3 separate regions of the Homo sapiens genome follow, and all the other regions are linked to region 1. Evidence: promoter capture Hi-C in 16 types of primary human blood cells and fetal thymus (Javierre and others, 2016). All regions are on one chromosome and are shown on one strand. Each heading gives the region's core, a stretch centred on a gene start or on the middle of the fragment in contact. The rest is flanking DNA. Distances are from core to core; before and after follow the strand shown.

Region 1 (2,759 bases), core at 170-2,669:
GGCAGCTTCTGAGTAAGGTTGTCCTTATTTCTGCCACAGTGCTTTGTCCACACCTCCTTGAATTCCTCAATTCCTCCCTCTGTCTTAAAAGAACATTTCTGAGTCTGTCTGCTCCATGAAGTATAAGTCCGAGCTCATTTTTGCCCATGCCCTGCTCACTCCTCTCCATTCCTTGCAGTGAATTGTGCTAAGCATCTCTGGCTTCCTTGTGAAAAAGGTGATGCCGTTCTCCATCAGGGTGCTGTGTACCCACTATGTGTGAGCGGTACAGAATGAATGAACATCCCAGGGCCCTAGAAAGGCGCCTGGCACATCCTGGACACTCAACAAGTATCTTTTAATTTTAATGAATAAATTCAAGATATTCGACTGTATTCATTTTCCACCCACTTTCCCCCTAGGCCAGGGACTCTCCTCCCAGGTGAGAAAAAATCATCTAGATACCTTAATTTTGATAAAGTTAGCGTTGATGTATAAAAAGCAGAACTTCCTCTGTAACCCTGTGAGAAATGAGAAGCCTCCAATCTTCTTCCCCACACCTACCCCCTACTGAGTTTCGGGTTCCTTGGAAATAACTGACCTGGATTGTTTCTGACAAAATAAAACTTTGCATCTTCTCCACAGAGCAAAGGTAACCTTACCTCCAGCCAACCCAATCATCCATACATTTTTCTTACTAGAAAAAATGTTTTTAAAAATGGAGGTGTGGCCGGGCGCGGTGGCTCACGCCTGTAATCCCAGCACTTTGGGAGGCCGAGGTGGGCGGATCATAAGGTCAGGAGTTCGAGACCAGCCTGGCTAAATGTTGACACCCCGTCTCTACTAAAAATTAGCCGGGCGTGGTGGCGCATACCTGTAATCCCAGCTACTTGGGAGGCTAAGGCAGGAGAATTGCTTGAACCCGGGAGGCGGAGGTTGCAGTGAGCAGAGATCGCGCCACTGCACTCCAGCCTGGGCGACAGAGCGAGACTCCCTCTCGGGAAAAAAACAACAACAACAACAACAAAAAAACCCCCAAACAAACAAAAAACGGAGGTGTGAGGGTAAAACGTCTACAGGCAAGAACAGCACAACAGGTGCTGAGCTGCAAAATCAACACACTAAACTCCCAAACAGACCTTCTCGACAAGCCAAAAGCTCTTTAGCTAACCTAATATTCTTTAGCTGTTGTTTCAGAGGCTTTTCGAGAACAAAACTGCCGCCCCGTCTTGGCCTTGCCGCTTTTCACCCATCACTCTACTGAGTGTGTGTCTGACTTGTTTATCTGGACGCAATCTTTGTCGCACCCAGTTATCTCGCTCAGCGACCGGGGCGACCACGTTTCCTTAAATCAGAGCCCCGTGGACTCCGCCGGAGAACTACATTACCCAGCGGCCTTCGCGCCCTTCGCAGGAAGGACGTCTGCGCACTAAGATACTCAGTTCCAAGTTTGGAGCTTTTAGCTGCCAGCCCTGGCCCATCATGTAGCTGCAGCACAGCCTTCCCTAACGTTGCAACTGGGGGAAAAATCACTTTCCAGTCTGTTTTGCAAGGTGTGCATTTCCATCTTGATTCCCTGAAAGTCCATCTGCTGCATCGGTCAAGAGAAACTCCACTTGCATGAAGATTGCACGCCTGCAGCTTGCATCTTTGTTGCAAAACTAGCTACAGAAGAGAAGCAAGGCAAAGTCTTTTGTGCTCCCCTCCCCCATCAAAGGAAAGGGGAAAATGTCTCAGTCGAAAGGTAAGAGGCTGTTTGCATTAGTTGCAAAAATGCAAAGGGTTGTGCATGCATTTATGAATGCATGGATGCAATTTTCGCCTGGCGAGTGCATTTTTAAGTTTGAGGTTTTCCACAGCTCAGTTGCATTTCCTGTTTAGTATGTGTCTTTTTTTGCAGACACAGAGAGTTCCTGTAAGGCAGGGCTTGCAGTTCAGCTGTGCATTGACGTTATTTGCATTCTTCTGCTAGGATTACTGAGCTCTTTTTGCCTTTTGCACAGTCAGGAGAGACAGAGCAGGTTGGTAGCGTCTAAATGTGCAAGGCTTTATATAATTGTAAAATTCTTTACTATGCACAGATATTGTAAGTAATTTTGTATGCAACAGGAATAGAAACTTTTAAAAACTCTATAGGTGAAGATGAAAGGTAAAACTTGAGTTAAACTACTAGGAAATTAATGTAATCTTATATTCTTTGGGGGAAATAGACCGTTGCGGTGCCAGTATTTAGCTAAATTTCCATTGATATCGCCTTGAACATTAGGTAACTTTTGATTTTTAAAGGAAGTAAAGGTGAAGGGTGAATAACAGCATATCACAAAAAAGCAGACGAGTCTTGCTCTTCTGAGATTTTGCACTTTACACCAATTGCTTATTGGCTCGCAAAATTTAGAAGCAGCAGTGAAGACCTAATGTTTTATGTCTGCCCATTTGGGGGATGCTTTGCATCTTGGGGGAAAATATTGGGGGTAAAACTGTACTTTTAAGCATTACAGTAGTGTGAAGGGACTGCACTGTTTCATTGACAAGCATAATGAAATATTTTAAGTGTGTAACTGCGTGTATTTAGTCAGCTGTAATAGGTTGGAAGTTCACGTTATGGTTGTTTTCTTTATGTTCTTTTATTTTCTTTTCTTAATTTTTGTTTTTAAACACAGTTGTATTTTGCAGGCTTAATGTCACCCTGGGAAGGGGATTTAAAAAATTCCTGATATGACATCAAAGAGCAGACTAGGTGCTGTCAGGTGCCCCTGGGACCCCAAGTCACTTGTTTCAGA
Region 2 (2,759 bases), core at 106-2,605, 1.4 Mb before region 1:
GGGGATGGGATTATGCTGATTAAGAGTAGGTCCAACCCTTTATGAACTCTGGCTTTACGATGAATGAGGCTGGCATTAATGCCTGCAAAAATGGACAAACTTGCTGTTTGAATTTATTTATAGTAAGAAATAAACCATGAAAACTTTTCTAAAATGTAATCTTTTAGAACACAAAAAAATTGCAGAAACAAAAATGGCCCAGAATCCTGATGCTCTGTTGACCATCTTTGTTTTGTTTGTTCGTTTGAGCATATGGCAAAAAATGCAAAATTCAGAAATGTGTAATGAGCATAGAATGTTACTATAACAATTGAAAAAACTTGAACACACACTACATACTAAACAACAGCATGAAATTTCAGTTTTTCTGAATTTGATGACTGCAGTGTGGTTATATAAGAGAATGTCTTTTCTTAGGAGAGACACCGTGAAACAGAGGAAAAAGGACATGATTCTGAAACTTTCTCTTAAAGTAACATATTAAAATCACACATATGTACACGCGTGCATATGTATACATATATATGTATAGAGAAAGCAATAGCAAATGTGGCAAAATGTTAAGATTTGGCAAATCTGGATAAAGATTTGCAATTCTGCTGCATTTGAAATTATTTAAAAATAAAAAACTTGAGTTTTTGGAGAAACAGGCATAAGAAACCTTTTGTTTCCATATTTGCGGCTTCTATACAGTCTTTTATGATGCAATTAAAAAAAAACTAAACTAAAAAATATAACACAAATCTTCCCTCCCATAGTAGCCAGAAACCCCCGCCGAGTACTTTGGGTGTCATAATAGGAAAAAAATGCAAAGCAATATGTTTTTCTATAAAGATTACTTATTTACTAATTAGAATTTTTTTATTTTCATGAAGATCAACAACAAAGTTTTTAAAATAATGACTTAGAGAATCATTTTGTGGTATTTGTTTAAGGCTGTCGCCCAGGAAAACGCCCAAGGACCATGCACGCTTCAACCCTATGGAAACACGAACGGCCCAGGGAACCGCCCCTTCGCGCTGCTTGACGGGATCTGGAGTCCTCCCGCTCCGCCCCGCCAGGCGCTCAGGGACCGCCCGGCCGCTCCCTCACCGCCCGGCCGCTCCCTCACCGCCCGGCCGCTCCCTCACCGCCCGGCCGCTCCCTCACCGCCCGGCCGCTCCCTCATCTCGCGATGCCATCCTCTTTTTTTTTTTTTCTTTCCCCCCTCCCACTCGCCCCCAAGCCCTATGACTCCCTCCCCTCCCAACGTGTTTTTCAAATCCACCAATGGGCACACAGCTTAGGCTCGAACCAGCCAATCGGAATGCGGAGTCACCGGGAAATTTAAATCGCGCCGGCCGGCTGCACGAGCCACACGGTCTTTGAGCTGAGTCGAGGTGGACCCTTTGAACGCAGTCGCCCTACAGCCGCTGATTCCCCCCGCATCGCCTCCCGTGGAAGCCCAGGCCCGCTTCGCAGGTACAGACTCAGGCGGCGGCCCGGCCCGAGCGCTAACGGCTTGCCCGTGGGCGGCGTTCGCCTTTTGGGTTGGGGGAGGGAGGCCCCGGGTCCACGCCGAGCCTGGCTCTGCCTCCCGCGTTGACTAGGCCTCGGGGGCGACGTTCATTGACCAGGCGGCTGAGTTTCGCGGGGTCTGCGGGTTTAGGGCGCCGACGCTCTGCAAACGGCAGCGGAGGCCTTAACGCGTCGCGGCCGGGAGAATCGGAGCGAGCCAGGCTTGAGGGCGAATGTCCCGGGAGGACTTGTGGCGGCCCTGGTTTCGCCTCCTCCTTTCTCGTTGCATCTTCCCCGGCGTGGGGGCAGGGGCTGGGGGTGGCAGTTGGGAGCACCGTCTCTGACACCTAGGCCCCGGGGGTGGCTCTGCCACCAAGTCGTAGGCGAGCGTAATGAAAGCAAAGATAGCAAATTGTAAGGAGGGCTTTGACTTTTGTCATCTTCTGAATGACGCACAGCTGATGTCATCCTAATTAAGCGCATTCACTCCTAGTCTCTGGAAATGCAAATCAAATATGCGAGATGCGGCACTGCATTTTTAATGTTGACCATAATGTAATGATGAAGCAAATTTTTATTTAATTTTCGAGTCTGCACCTATTTTGGCCAAGTAAAGACAGTAAAATAGGGAGAGCCTCCTGAGGATCTGAATTTATTGCCCTGGCACATAATTTTTAGCTGTAAGTTGACTTGGTTCCCCTACTTTGTCTTGAATTAACTATTAGGGACTCTGGAGTATCGAACTAGGCTGTCAGAAACGGTGGATACATGTGGCTAGTCCAAATTGAAATACGCTGTAAGCTTAAAGTACACAAAAGATTTCAAAGATGGAGTATGGAAAAAGAATGTAGAAGATGTCAGTTATTTTATATATTGATAACACGTTGAAATACTATTTGGATATGTTGGGTTAAGTAAAATACATTATTAAAATTAGTTTCACTTGTTTCTTTTCTCCTTTTTAAAAATATGGCTACTAGGAAGTTTCAATTTATATAGCTTGCATTCTATTTCTGATGGAGAGCCCTCTCCAGGAAGTCTCAGCCCTTTAGAGGGAAGGGGGACACTTCCCCTTTGGGTAAAGCTATTTCATAGTGCCGAAAACATGATGATCCCCCCTCTAGTATACAGGTGTGGATTCAGTAGATGCTTGATAATTCAGTTCTTATTTGGTACTATTATTGACAAAGGAAAATGATAAAGGAAATATTTTTCTCTTCCCCCATCTTTTAGCTTTCTCCCTTTGTCTCATAACCATGTCC
Region 3 (2,759 bases), core at 167-2,666, 1.1 Mb after region 1:
CCTTGCTGATAAAACAGGTTGCAATTAAGAACCTGGCTAAAACCCACCAAAACCAAAATGGTCACGAGAGTGACCTCTGGTCATCCTCACTGCTACACTCCCACCAGTGCTGTGACAGTTTACACATGCCAAGGCAACATCAGGAAGTTACCCTATATGGTCTAAAAAGGGGAGGCATGAATACTCCACCCCTTGTTTAGCATGTCATCAAGGAATAACCATAAAAATAAGAAACCAGCAGCCCTTGGGTCTGCTGTGTCTATGGAGTAGCCATTCTTTTATTCCTTTACTTTCTTAATAAACTTGCGTTCACTTTACTCTCTGGATTCTCCCTGAATTCGTCTTTCTTGAGCGAAAGCCAAGACCCTCTCTTGGGATCTGGATTGGGACCCCTTTCCTGTAACAATTGTGTCCTATTACATTCAGCCAATTTAGCAAATTGATTTATGATTCTTACATATCCATAGGATAAGTATGTGGATTATCTTCATTTTGTTACTGATGAGAAAATGGACACTTAAAGAAATTCAGTGACTTTCCAGGGTTACATACCATCTGACTAAATGGCAAAACTGAAATCAAGCCCAAATACACTCTACCTCCTCTCACAAATTTTGGAAACATTTAATCCAATCCTTAAATCAACAGAGGATCAAACTGAGGCGCAGGGATTGCTGAAATAGACAAGGAGTAACAAAGTTTGCCCCGTTAGAGCCAAATGATGAGCTTCTGGCCTTTTGAAAAGTTTAGTTGTAAAATAGTCCCTATGAGTAGGAAGGAAGACACATTTTTATTTAGTTTTATGTAAATGGTGCGAGACAAATTCAGCCTTGCCTAAGGCAACTGAAAAACCATCTTTGAGTGAATTATTCCTTTGAAGCTTTATCTTCAAAAGGCACTGCTACTCTTTAACTTTGGCAGGAAAGGGGAACACCTGCAGCACCGTTGCATAAATTGGCTTCGTTGGACCTCCTTCATCAGCCAGAGCTGGAGACCTACGTGGGTTATAATGTCTGGAAAGGGCAAGGTGGTGGCCTGAGTAGTCTGAAGTCTGTTATTCTGGTAATGGTTCCCTACTTAGGGTATTTCTAACTATGAATCAGGCCTTCAGGAGAAATATTACTAACTGGAAATATTGAGGGACGTGGAGACAAGATGTGAGCCTACAGCACAGCTTTCCTTCCAGTGCGTATGGTACATAGGATGCCCAAGTGCGGGTTCAAATATGCTGAGATGTTGATTCGCTCAGCCCTTGGGATGGATCTTGCAATGAGACTTGCTCAGTCTCATTTGTTTTTCCCGAGTACAGGGTACCATGTACCTAAAATCGTTTGCTTGTTACTCTGGGATATCATGGGAAGCCCTGGCCTAGGGCATCTAGAACTACATGCAGCTAGCATGTGGAGGACTGAAAGAATTCTCTGAACCGAAGAGCATGTGATTTGGAATTTTTAAACATAGTTTCTGTAAATATAGATGGAGTCTTCCCTGCACATATAAGGCATATCCCGTGGATCCAAAGGGGTAACTATGTGATTTGACAGCAAAAGTGGATGTGATCCACAAAGCAGAGAAATACGGAGCCAGGTCCACCTTGGAAAAACAGGAACACATATCCACACTCAGTACGCATCCTCTCTCATCTCACGACTCTCATCCCAGTCAGAGTTGTCTGAATGGACAGGATTACTGGCAAATATTTGCTATGATGAAGATTTTTTTCCCATGATTGCTAATATTTTATGCCTCAATCCCCCATTCCTCCCCACCCCAGCAAACCAAGTCCTTCATGATGTTTCCATGGCTCTTGCAGTTCCTAGACAATCTGTTTGGCTTCCCCATCCAAGATTTTTGGAGTGGAACACTGGAATATAGGATAGCATCACAAGTTAGTCAAGAAAGTCAATAGGAAGTGATGTTTATAGCTGGGATAAGATGTCCTTTTAGGCCACTTAAGCTTTGTACATGGACCTGCACTGTGTGTATTTCATAGAACAGCTAGGTAGCATTTCCCATGTCGTGTCTACCACATGTTGGATGTCAGGGTGGGTTGAAATGCTTTGGATCAGTATTTGTCAAATTATGATCTGTCGACTACCATCTTCTAGGACTAATACATTAAATATATTTTAAAAAATTGGAGTTATATGTTTAAGTAATGGTCAGGATTAATTCTAGGGATAGAAAGTTCTAGGGATAAATATTCAAGACTAAGTAGCTGAGAGACACAATCAAGAACAGAATTTTTTTCTTTATTTTTTTAAACTACACTATGTTTTGTGTGTTGGCTTCTCTACATTTCCCTCATGGTTACTAGATGATTGTTATGTCTCTATGACTGCATCTTCCTTCCAGAGAGGAGAAAAGAGGAAGTAAAAAGGGGTTAAAAGTCATGTTAGTGGAGTCTTTCCCTTTTATGAGAAAAACAAAAAACATTCCTAGGAACTTTCCTCTTAAGTCGCACTAGACAGGATTTAGTCACATGGCTACCATCAATACATCTTTGGAAAAGGGTAACAAGATTACCACAACTAGTCATGGCCAGGGTGACCACCTGCCTATCAAAGATTTCTGTTTCTTTTTCATGGTGTAGAATGGTTGCTAAGAAGGCACACTTCCAAGCCTTTCTTTTTTTTTTTTTTTTTTTTAATTTTTTTTTTTTTTATTATACTCTAAGTTTTAGGGTACATGTGCACATTGTGCAGGTTAGTTACATATGTATACATGTGCCATGCTGGTGCGCTGCACCCACTAACGTG

What was found. Contacts are between HindIII fragments. The CHiCAGO score rates a contact against its expected background, and 5 or more counts as called.
Region 2: a contact is called between the fragment with the promoter of KPNA2 here and the fragment with the promoter of MAP2K6 in region 1, in 1 of 17 cell types (monocytes). The highest score is 11.4, in monocytes.
Region 3: a fragment that was not itself captured here is called in contact with the fragment with the promoter of MAP2K6 in region 1 in 1 of 17 cell types (fetal thymus); the score reaches 5.2 in fetal thymus.

Annotation. Positions count from the first base shown.
Region 1 is chr17:69,413,278-69,416,036 of GRCh38, forward strand. It overlaps MAP2K6 (mitogen-activated protein kinase kinase 6), which reads left to right and starts at 1,420. Exons shown (of 12, transcript NM_002758.4): 1 at 1,420-1,723. The coding sequence starts at 1,708. The HindIII fragment of the contact is 8,167 bases long and covers 1-2,759 here.
Region 2 is chr17:68,034,380-68,037,138 of GRCh38, forward strand. It overlaps KPNA2 (karyopherin subunit alpha 2), which reads left to right and starts at 1,356. Exons shown (of 11, transcript NM_002266.4): 1 at 1,356-1,461; 2 at 2,731-2,759. The coding sequence starts at 2,754. RefSeq lists a silencer at 1,089-1,138 and enhancers at 1,102-1,649, 1,669-1,888. The HindIII fragment of the contact is 7,979 bases long and covers 1-2,296 here.
Region 3 is chr17:70,542,161-70,544,919 of GRCh38, forward strand. No RefSeq gene overlaps it. Among named protein-coding and RNA genes, the nearest start is that of KCNJ2, 370 kb to the left of the region's middle. The HindIII fragment of the contact is 1,077 bases long and covers 879-1,955 here.